Regions from separate parts of the Homo sapiens genome. Here all the other regions are linked to region 3. The links are contacts of gene promoters, found by promoter capture Hi-C in human tissues and cell types (Jung and others, 2019). All regions are on one chromosome and are shown on one strand. The core of a region is centred on a gene start or on the middle of the fragment in contact, and the rest is flanking DNA. Distances in the headings are between cores, read along the strand shown. Region 1 overlaps ORC3 (origin recognition complex subunit 3). Region 2 overlaps SLC35A1 (solute carrier family 35 member A1). Region 3 holds the start of UBE2J1 (ubiquitin conjugating enzyme E2 J1).

What was found. Contacts are between HindIII fragments. The study calls those that stand out against the background at their distance.
Region 1: a fragment that was not itself captured here is called in contact with the fragment with the promoter of UBE2J1 in region 3 in 1 of the 25 tissues and cell types used here (bladder).
Region 2: a contact is called between a fragment that was not itself captured here and the fragment with the promoter of UBE2J1 in region 3, in 1 of the 25 tissues and cell types used here (heart right ventricle).

The regions. Positions count from the first base shown.
Region 1 is chr6:87,598,646-87,601,722 of GRCh38, forward strand. All of the region lies in intron 2 of ORC3 (origin recognition complex subunit 3), which reads left to right. Among named protein-coding and RNA genes, the nearest start is that of ORC3, 10 kb to the left of the region's middle. The HindIII fragment of the contact is 6,974 bases long and covers 1-3,077 here.
Region 2 is chr6:87,479,412-87,482,382 of GRCh38, forward strand. All of the region lies in intron 2 of SLC35A1 (solute carrier family 35 member A1), which reads left to right. Among named protein-coding and RNA genes, the nearest start is that of SLC35A1, 7.9 kb to the left of the region's middle. The HindIII fragment of the contact is 4,586 bases long and covers 1-2,971 here.
Region 3 is chr6:89,351,319-89,354,634 of GRCh38, forward strand. It overlaps UBE2J1 (ubiquitin conjugating enzyme E2 J1), which reads right to left and starts at 1,404. Exons shown (of 8, transcript NM_016021.3): 1 at 1,221-1,404. The coding sequence starts at 1,251. RefSeq lists an enhancer at 710-1,659 and silencers at 956-1,015, 1,046-1,755, 1,766-1,865. The HindIII fragment of the contact is 5,428 bases long and covers 1-3,316 here.

The DNA.
Region 1 (3,077 bases), core at 366-2,865, 1.8 Mb before region 3:
AAGTTTGCTAGGCTTTTTTTTTTTTTTCATTATGTGGCTCTAAGACCAACGGGTAGTGTTATAATACGAAAATCTTTGAGGAATTGACCCTGATTATAAGGCAGATGGAGCAGGAATGAGGGAAACATACCCAGACTTTAACATTTGCCTTCACTGGCTTCAGTTGTTGAAACAGATTGACTGAAGAAGTAGGAAGATGCTCTGCATTTTGCCCACCATCTGTCCCCTGACTGAAGACACTTGGGCACGTAATTAAGACTGGTAACTCTCCCTCTCCTCAGTATTCTGTGGATGACTGCATATCCAGCAAAACAACTGGATAGGAACTGGAGAGAGAGAGACTGGCAGCAGCACTGGCACTGTAGGAGATACCCACACTGAAGTATAGCACTGTGAATAGGAGCCGAGGCAGGTAGAAACCTGGCAACAGTGAGAGCTTATATTCTTCAGTGTAGTTTTTAAATTTACCTACCTGATCTGTAACAGACTGAGAGAAGTCATGGTAACAGTTTAAAGTATCCTACTGCTGTGTTTCCCAGTTTCTAAGAGGTTTTTCATGTGTATTTTGATGCGGCATTATTCTGCACATAAAAATTGTGTCTTGATTTGCCACTTTCATGTTATGCTATGATTTTACCTATTAATGTAAAGTGACTATTTTTGTTCTTTTTAAAGCTACCTTGTTGTTCTGCTTTGTCTCTTTTTTTTATTATTTATTTATTTATTTATTTATTTATTTTGAGGCAAGGTTTTGCTCTGTCGCCCAGGCTGGAGTGTAGTGGCACAATTTCAGCTCACTGCAACCTCTGCCTCCCAGGTTCAGGTGATTCTCCTGCCTCAGCCTCCTGAGTACCTGGGACTACAGGTGTATGCCACCACGCCCGGCTAATTTTTGTATTTTTAGCAGAGATGGGGTTTCACCATGTTGGCCAGGGTGGTCTCCAAGTCCTGAGCTAATGAACCGCCCACCTTGGCCTCCCAAAGCGCTGGGATTACAGGCATGTGCCACCACGCTGGCCTGCTTTGTCTCTTAATAATAGTGTCCTCTGGCTAGGTGGGGTGATGTACGCCTGTAATACCAGCACTTTGGGAGGCCAAGGTGGGCAGATCACTTGAGGTCAGGTGTTCAAGACCAGCCTGGCCAATGTGGTGAAACCCCGTCTCTGCTAAAAATATAATTAGCCAGATGTGGTCGCGGGCGCCTGTAGTCCCAGCTACTCGGGAGGCTGAGGCAGGAGAATCACTTGGACCTGGGAGGCGGAGGTTGCAGTAAGCTGAGATCTCACCACTTCACTCCAGCCTGGGCAACAGAGCGAGACCCTGTCTCAAATAATAGTAATAGTAATAATAGTGTCTCCTTGCTTTCTTTTTTTGTTGGCATTTTAATTCTATAACCTTGTCTGCCACTTTACCGTACGATGACTTCAATGTATTCCAAGGCTTTTGATAAAATTAAAAATCAATAGTTGCTAAAAACTCTGAGTTAACTATGATTAGGAGAGAAGTTCCTTAACATGAAGTGAATTTATATTCCAAACTATCAGTTAACATTAAAACTTGGTGGTAGATTATTAGCAGCAGAAATTTAACGTGAACACTCCAGTTGTTACAATAAAATACGTAGCAGTAAACAACAAGAAATATGAGGGAAAGTAGAAAACTATAAGGAATCTAAAATATTTGATTAAAAAAAGAGACCTGTGATATTGGGGTTGGGGATTTTTTAACATATTAAAGATGGGATTTTTCCCCAAATCAGTCTATGGATTTGATTTTATCTAGTCAAATACCAGTACAACTAGTTTTGAGAAGTGACAGGATTACTGTAAAATTAATTTGAAGAAGTGGCTTAAATTTTTTTGAAAGAGAATAACAATGTTTGGGGGCAGTGGGAGGAAGACCTAAATGTATTTGATAAAATGTACAACATACAAAGCCATAATAATTAAAACAGTTCAAGACTGGTAGGAGAATAGGGTTGGATTCAGTAGAACAAAATAAAAAGTTCAAACATAGTTCAAAGTATATATAAGTATTTAGACTATAAGGGCATGTCAAATCAGCGGGAGAAGGATGGATTGTACAATAAAGGAGGGTTTTTCAAACCAAATGTCATAATTTATGTGTGAGTTATGAAATCAATTTAGTGGACTATGAGTATAAAACAGGAAAGAAAACATTTGCTATTACATAATAAGGGTGAGTGTTGTTTTTTGTGACTTTAGTTTTTGTTCATGTGTATATGTGTTAGGTTATGATATAAAGTGTATTCCTTAATGTGGATTATAGTTTGAAAAGTTTGAAAGCCAGTGCAATAAATGGTATTTTCACAAATAGCTAACCATTTGGAGAAAGCATTCAAAAAGGATACAAAAATATACAGACAGAATAAATGAAAGACTGGACTAAACTATGTCAGTGGAAAAATGTAAGAATAGTAGTAGTAAGTCATTCAATAGAGGAGAGTTCAAAGCAAATGTATGAAACAAAGTATACAAGGTTGTAGAATAACAGCAAATAATGAAAACATTATTAAATGTATATAACTCAAAAAAGCCACTTAATAAAAACTGTTAGAAATTAAAAAGCAAATGATAGAAATACAGTAGAAAGATTGACATTTTTAATCTTAAATATGCCATAAATATGGTAAAAATAAAAGATTATAAAAAATGAAATACAGAGGATATTGAATGTTACCTGTCCCCAAATATATGTTTTTGATGAATGTAAAAAAAATTAAGGCCAGGCAAGGTGGCTCACACTTGTAATCCCAGTACTTTGGGAGGCCAAGGTGGGCAGATCACTTGAGGTCAGGAGTTTGAGACCAGCCTGGCCAACATGGTGAAACCCCATCTCTACTAAAAATACAAAATTGAGCGGGCGTGGTGGCACGTGCCTGTAGTCACAGCCACTCGGGAGGCTGAGGCAGGAGAGAATCACTTGAACCTGGGAGGCGGAGATCGCACTGAGCCAACATCATGCCACTGCACTCCAGCCTGGGTGACAGAGTGAGACTCCATATCAAAAAAAAAAAAAATTTCACTTCTGTCACTTACTGTGTAACTTTGCACGTA
Region 2 (2,971 bases), core at 430-2,929, 1.9 Mb before region 3:
AGCTGTGAGGGAAGTAAGAATTGAGGCTGTTATTCCTTTCCATTTACCGAACCACTTTTCTAGCCATCCTGTAAAGGGGTCATTTACCCCTGAGCTGCTGGCTAACTCATTGGACAGAGCAGTCAGACCTTGCAATGCCTTTGTTATACTTCCATTAGGGGCAGTGTTGTTTGGGATGAAGGCACAACATTCAGTTTTAATCATGATGCAAACTCCTCCTCTTTCTGCTAATATCATGTCTAAGGCTATCCTATTTTCCCAAGCCATCTGGCAGTTAGTCCCTAATTGCTCAGCTATTCCTTTAACAGCATCTCTAGTGTAGTTCATAAATTGCTGTTGGTTATAATAGATGTAGTTTATCCAATCTATGTTTTTATTAATTGTGACCCACCAAAATATTGACTCAAATCCTGCAGCTATTTGATTTCGGGCTTTAAATTGATCTGGTATTCCCCGTGGGACTCCAATTGCATCTAAATAGACATGAGAGTTGAATGACCTATAAGGAGCTTCTCTCACTTTATGATGTCTTATTTTTCCTTCCTCTGGTTGATGAAATGCCAGAGTAAAAGGGATAGCCAATTGAACTAGAGCATAACTACTGCTCTAATTATTTGGCAGAGTGTCCAGTAAAGGTCCTCCATAATACCACCATACATCCGCTCAGGGATGAATAAGGGCAGATTGACGGGTCACCTCTTGGAAGTGCCTAACTTCACTGCATCCTGTTAAGTCTCCAAGAAATGCCAAATTTTTCCCCGTGTCGTTAGAGACACGAGGTAAAATTGGTTTTGGAAGATGGAGGCTGGATGGCCCTTGGGGGCTGACCTGCAGGGTGTTGGACTTCAGGAAATAGCAGAGAAAGAGCTTAGCACAATTTGTTATTCCAGGCAGTAGAATCTTGAAAAAGCTACCATGCACTCCATGTCCACTTGATTTGAGGACCATCCCAGTGGAAAGGTAACAACCTGGGCCTCTAGCCTACCGTGCACACAAGTGTAACAGTTACTTTTGTTTAAAGTGTGAATGGAATATTTAATACATTTTAACCAGGCATTTACATCTTTATACCCTGTCAATAGCTATGGTTTGCCTTAGGTCTCCTATTTCTACTACTGAGACCTTGCTTTTGTCATTTGGCATGAGGCGAGGCATAGTTTTATTTCGTAGGTTTGTGAAAGGGGCAGTTGTAGGAGGTAGAGCAGGGAGAACAAAGCGCATCTTAAAGAAGCCTATAGGGTCCTTTCCAGTGACTTCTGCTCCTAAACCATAGAAACGCTCTAAAGTGGGGTTAGAGTTGCTAGTGGTAGGAACAGTAATGGATATAGGCACTGTGTTAGGAAAGGAAGGAAAAGATAGATAGACTAAGCTTTTCTTAGCTTTAATTTGGTAAGGCTTGATCCAGGAACAATGGTCCATGATTCTGATGGTAATGGTGCTTGCTTGACTCGGGTGTGATGTGTCCATCCCCCTTCTGTGGTACAAACCATAGTCTTGGTGGTTAGCAGCACAAGGTAGGGTCCTTCTCAGGCTGGCTTGAGTTTTCCTTCTTTCTACCCTTTGATGAGGGTGTGATCCCCAGGCTAGTGCCCGTTTACCAGAAATTCTAGGGGTGGTACCTGTGCTAAAAGACTTGTAGTTTTGAGGGAAAGGAAAGTGGAAGATAAACCAAGTATATAATTTATGAGAAACTGATCTTTTGTTTTAAATTTGGGGACACCAGGCTGGGCGCGGTGGCTCATGCCTGTAATCCCAGCACTTTGGGAGGCCGAGGCGGGTGGATCACCTGAGGTCAGGAGTTTCAAGACCAGCCTGGCCAACATGGAGAAACCTTGTCTCTACTAAAAAATACAAAATTAGCCAGGCTTGGTGGCACATGCCTGTAATCCCAGCTACTTGGGAGGCTGAGGCAGGAGAATCGCTTGAACCTGGGAGGCGGAGGTTGTGGTGAGCCGAGATCGCGCCATTGCACTCTAGCCTGGGCAACAAGAGCGAAACTCTGACTCAAAAAAAAAAAAAAAAATTGGGGGACACCAGCAGTGGACTTTATAGTCCTTAGTGCCTTCTTCCTGAGAAACTTCCTTTAGAAACTTCCTGAGAAACCTATTTTTATTAGTTTTTAGACCAAAGAAAGCCAAACACCATTTTATATTTGACAGTGCTTCCTGTATGATTATACCAGATAAGCTAAATTTCACCTTTATATTAGTGTATTATTAATATTAAACTCAATTTTAATAAAACCCTGTAGACATATTTATCCGATTTTAATGTCTGACCATAAGGTAAGATTTCCATAGACTCTTTTTAACCTTTTATAAAATTTGTTAAAGAGCAGTTTAGTGTTTTTTAGTGTTTTAAGAAAAACCCATTGTGCTTTTATTTTAATGTCCAGTTCACAGAAAAACTGGATGATACCCCTTTAACTTTAGCCAATATGGTTACACACAGAATTTCCTTTACAATTAACATTTTAAAACTTGCTTAAACGCTCAAAACAAAATTTTTTTTAACCTTTTAATGTAGGTAAAAATCCACATTCTATGCCTCCTTATTATCCTTTTACCAAAAGTATATTTTACTTTCATTATACACCTTGCACATAAACTGTTTCTTCAATAGTTTTACATTCAGGAGGCCTAATTACTTTTAAATTATACAACATTTCTTGCATAAGTTCCCTTTTATAGCATTTTTCATGACTTTCGCAATCTTCGACAGGCCTCAATTTTCTGACTTCCTGTAAACATCGCTTTCTTTAAATAACCAGTTAATTTATTTTAGGATAATAATTTACCATATAACATTCTTTTTATATAAATTCTCCCCCCCCTCCTTTTTTTTCCCCCAAGATGATAACCATTCTTTTCCAAAGCAAACTTCCTTCAGGTCTGTGGACTAGACTGCCTAAGGCCACAAGATTAGAAGTTAGGATAATACATATTACACTGCTAACTTTTGGCAAACTTTA
Region 3 (3,316 bases), core at 154-2,653:
CCTCCCAAAGTGCTGGGATTACAAGCGTGTGCCACCGTGCCAGGTCTTCATCAGATTTTTTTAAGGAGTCAGTGGCTCCTAAAATATTATGACCAGTTCTACACACTTGGTCACCTAAGGACATTTCTTAGCCTGACAGCACTCAGGCTAACAAAGCTCCCTCCAATCAATATCCTCAGGCTTTTCTGGGGTTTTTGCATATTCTGAAACCTTACAAAAAACCCAAAGATTCACAGTGTCAACTCTTTCCACAAGGATGCTAGTCTTGCTAATTCCTACTGAGAAACAGCTTTTTTTGGAAGGAAATTTTAAGCAACAGCAAAAGTTGGTGAAATCATCACTAATATCCTAGAGTTTATCATGCAGAGTTAACTGTGGAGTTTCTTCCCCCTGACAAAATGTATCAAGGTACAGATAGAAAAAATACCATTTAGAGGATCCAATGATTCATTTCAAGCCTGTTTTATTAAGCTGAGAAAGCTAGTTGCTTATCTTTATAATGCACCAGAAAGTAATTAGAGGCTAGGATTGCTGGGACTGCTTGTGTAAATATAAAGCAGGATCATTAAATGCAGGAAAGGAATCGCTACGACTGAATACAGATACATTTCATATTAGCCAGTCTGGCAAAAATCAAGGTTAGCTCTCAAGAACAGGGCTCAACGAGGTGTTTTTTTGTTGTTGTTTTGTTTTGCTTTAGCTCTATAGTTAACTGGTTTAGTTACAGAACATTTCCTTTATGTCTGTAATTGTATTCGCCCAAGTGCTGCAAATAGGATATTTAAACGACCAACTCCTCAAATGTGAGTAAATCAGCCGGCAGTAAATAGAAGTAAATAGAAGTCCGGTGGCAGCGACAGGGAGGGAATAGCGACCAGGTACAGCGAGGGGGTTGATGACTATCGCCCACCGACATCACCTTTACACCTGTTCTCAGGGATGAGTTTCTGACCCAGCTCTACGGGACCAGGCGAAGATGAGAAAAGGGAGAGGCTGGGTGCTGCGGGGCGCGCTGGCCGGCCGGGGGATTGGCAGCGGACGTCCACCCGGCCACCTCGCCCTGCGGCCTGTACTTCCCGGGCAGGCGGCGGTCTCGCGTAGAGCGCGAAACCAGGAGCTGAGCCGCGAGTGGCGCCAGACGCGAGGGGACCGAGGCGGCGACCACCCCGGGGTCCAGGGTCACTCCGCCCTCCTCGCCCAGGGGCCCCAGCCCTGCTCACCCGGACTCTTCAGGTTGTAGCGGGTCTCCATGGTGGGTCGCTGGCTTGGCTCCGGCCTCCCGGGCCGCTGCCACCTCCTCTCCACGCGGCCGCTGCCCGGGTCTCAGCGCGGCTCGGGCGGACGGGGCCTGGCCGAGGAGCCTCGGCAAATGCCGCCCAGTCCAGCCTGGACTGCGGGCGGGGTGGCAAGGCTGAGTGCGGGCGAGGCGCTCGCTTCGCGATGGCGCCGCCTCCTCCACTGCGCCCCCGCCTCCCTGAGTGCCTGGCAGGCACCGGCGCCGGCCGGGGCGGCGCTGAACCGGGCGCCCGGGCTGGAGGTCAGCCTCCTCGGGTAGTCGCAGGCCCAGCCCTGCCGCGGCCGCCCGGCTTGCGTCACCCGCCCTCGTCCGGGATTTGTGAAGTTGCCCTGACGTGGCAGTAGCTTCGTGGCGGTCGGTCACTACCCAGCCGCCGCCCGCCCGGCGAAGCCGGCTTGGGGAGGTGCAGGAGCGAGCGGCGTCCTCGTCCTCTCGTCCCGGCCCTGCCCGCTGTAGGCGAGGTCCGGGACCCCCGGGCCCTCGAGAGCTCGGAGGGGGCGCCGGGCTCCGGCTGCAAAGCTGTCCGCAGCCGGCTGCCCGCGCGCGGTCCCGCAGGGTCTGGGAAAGGCTTTGTTTTTAGATTCAGTTGCTGTTGCGAGGGGCGGGGGTTAAGTGAGGAGGGGGAAAGCCAGTGACAAGGAAATGGAATAGGATTTTTTTTATTTTTTATTTTGTGTGTGTGTGTGACGGTGTCACCGCTCTGTCGCCCAGGCTGGGATGCAGTGGCGCGATCTTGGCTCACTGCAGCCTCTACCTCCCGGGCCCAAGCGATCCTCCCACCTCAGCCTCCAGCGTGGCTGGGACCACAGGTGTGTGCCACCATGCCCGGTTAATTTTTTGTATTTTTGTTAGAGACACGGTTTCACCGTGTTGGCCAGGCTCGTCTCGAACTCCTGGACTCAAGCGATCCGCCCGCCTCGGCCTTCCAAAGTGCTGGGGTTACAGGCGTGAGCCACGGCTCTGGCCAGAGTTGGATATTCATAACAATTTTTTTCTCGGGTAGTGTGTTAGGTGCACGACATGTTTTAGGCATTGCAGGAGTTTTGTTTTTTTTGGTTTGTTTAGATGTAAAAGCTGTCAAAAAAAGGAATTACATTTAATGTGAGGGAAAGCATACAAATATGAAAGGTTAAACTTCAAAGGACACACTTACTGCTTCATTGTCCAATGTGTGGGATCGAGAGAGGACTGAGTTCAAAAGACTTAAGGAGTAGGGACCTTACTAAAGGAAAGGAGGGAGGGATTGGGAAGGTGGGGAGGATAGAAAGGGTTAATCAGGTTGGGCAAGTTTTATTCTGTTATATAAAGACATAAACTCTTAAATTTGATTTGTTTTCTATTGTTAAAGTTAATCTAAATCTGTGAGTTTCTTGATGAAATTGGGAGTAAAAAAGTGAAGGATATCTAAAATTAGATGGTATATTTTAAATCATTCCCTGATGTTGTTTTCTGTATAGTAAACTGATAATCTGACTGACTGAGATATGCAAACAAAACCAAACTCCAATGCTGCTTCATTCATTCATTGTGTTGAATCTTCAGATTAACTGACACTTGACACCCTCTCCTGCCACAGCTCTACAAAAGCCCCTAATTTGTGCAGTAGGCCCTACCACAGCAAGGCCTGCAAAGCAGGTGCTGTATATAATGCGTTCCTATTTGATAGCTGAGTACTAGAAGCCTTTTGCTATTCAGCCTCCAAGGTCCATCAATCTCTGGGTGCAGTTGTCCTCTGGGGCTCTCCTTTAGCCACCACCACCTCCACTGCTCCCTGGGGCTCTTCTCCCATAGGACTGGTTCAGTAGGAATAACAATCTCTCCTTCCTTGGTTAACAACAATAACAACAATTTATTGTGGACATGTGCCCATAACAATTTAATTATGGGCACATATCAAAGCTTAATTACAATCATGCTCCAAGATCAAAGCCAATTCCAAAATTTCTCTCAGCAGAGACATTTACAGAGAAAAGAGAAGTGGCTGGCAGGTGTGGTGGCTCATGCCTGTAATCCCAGCAC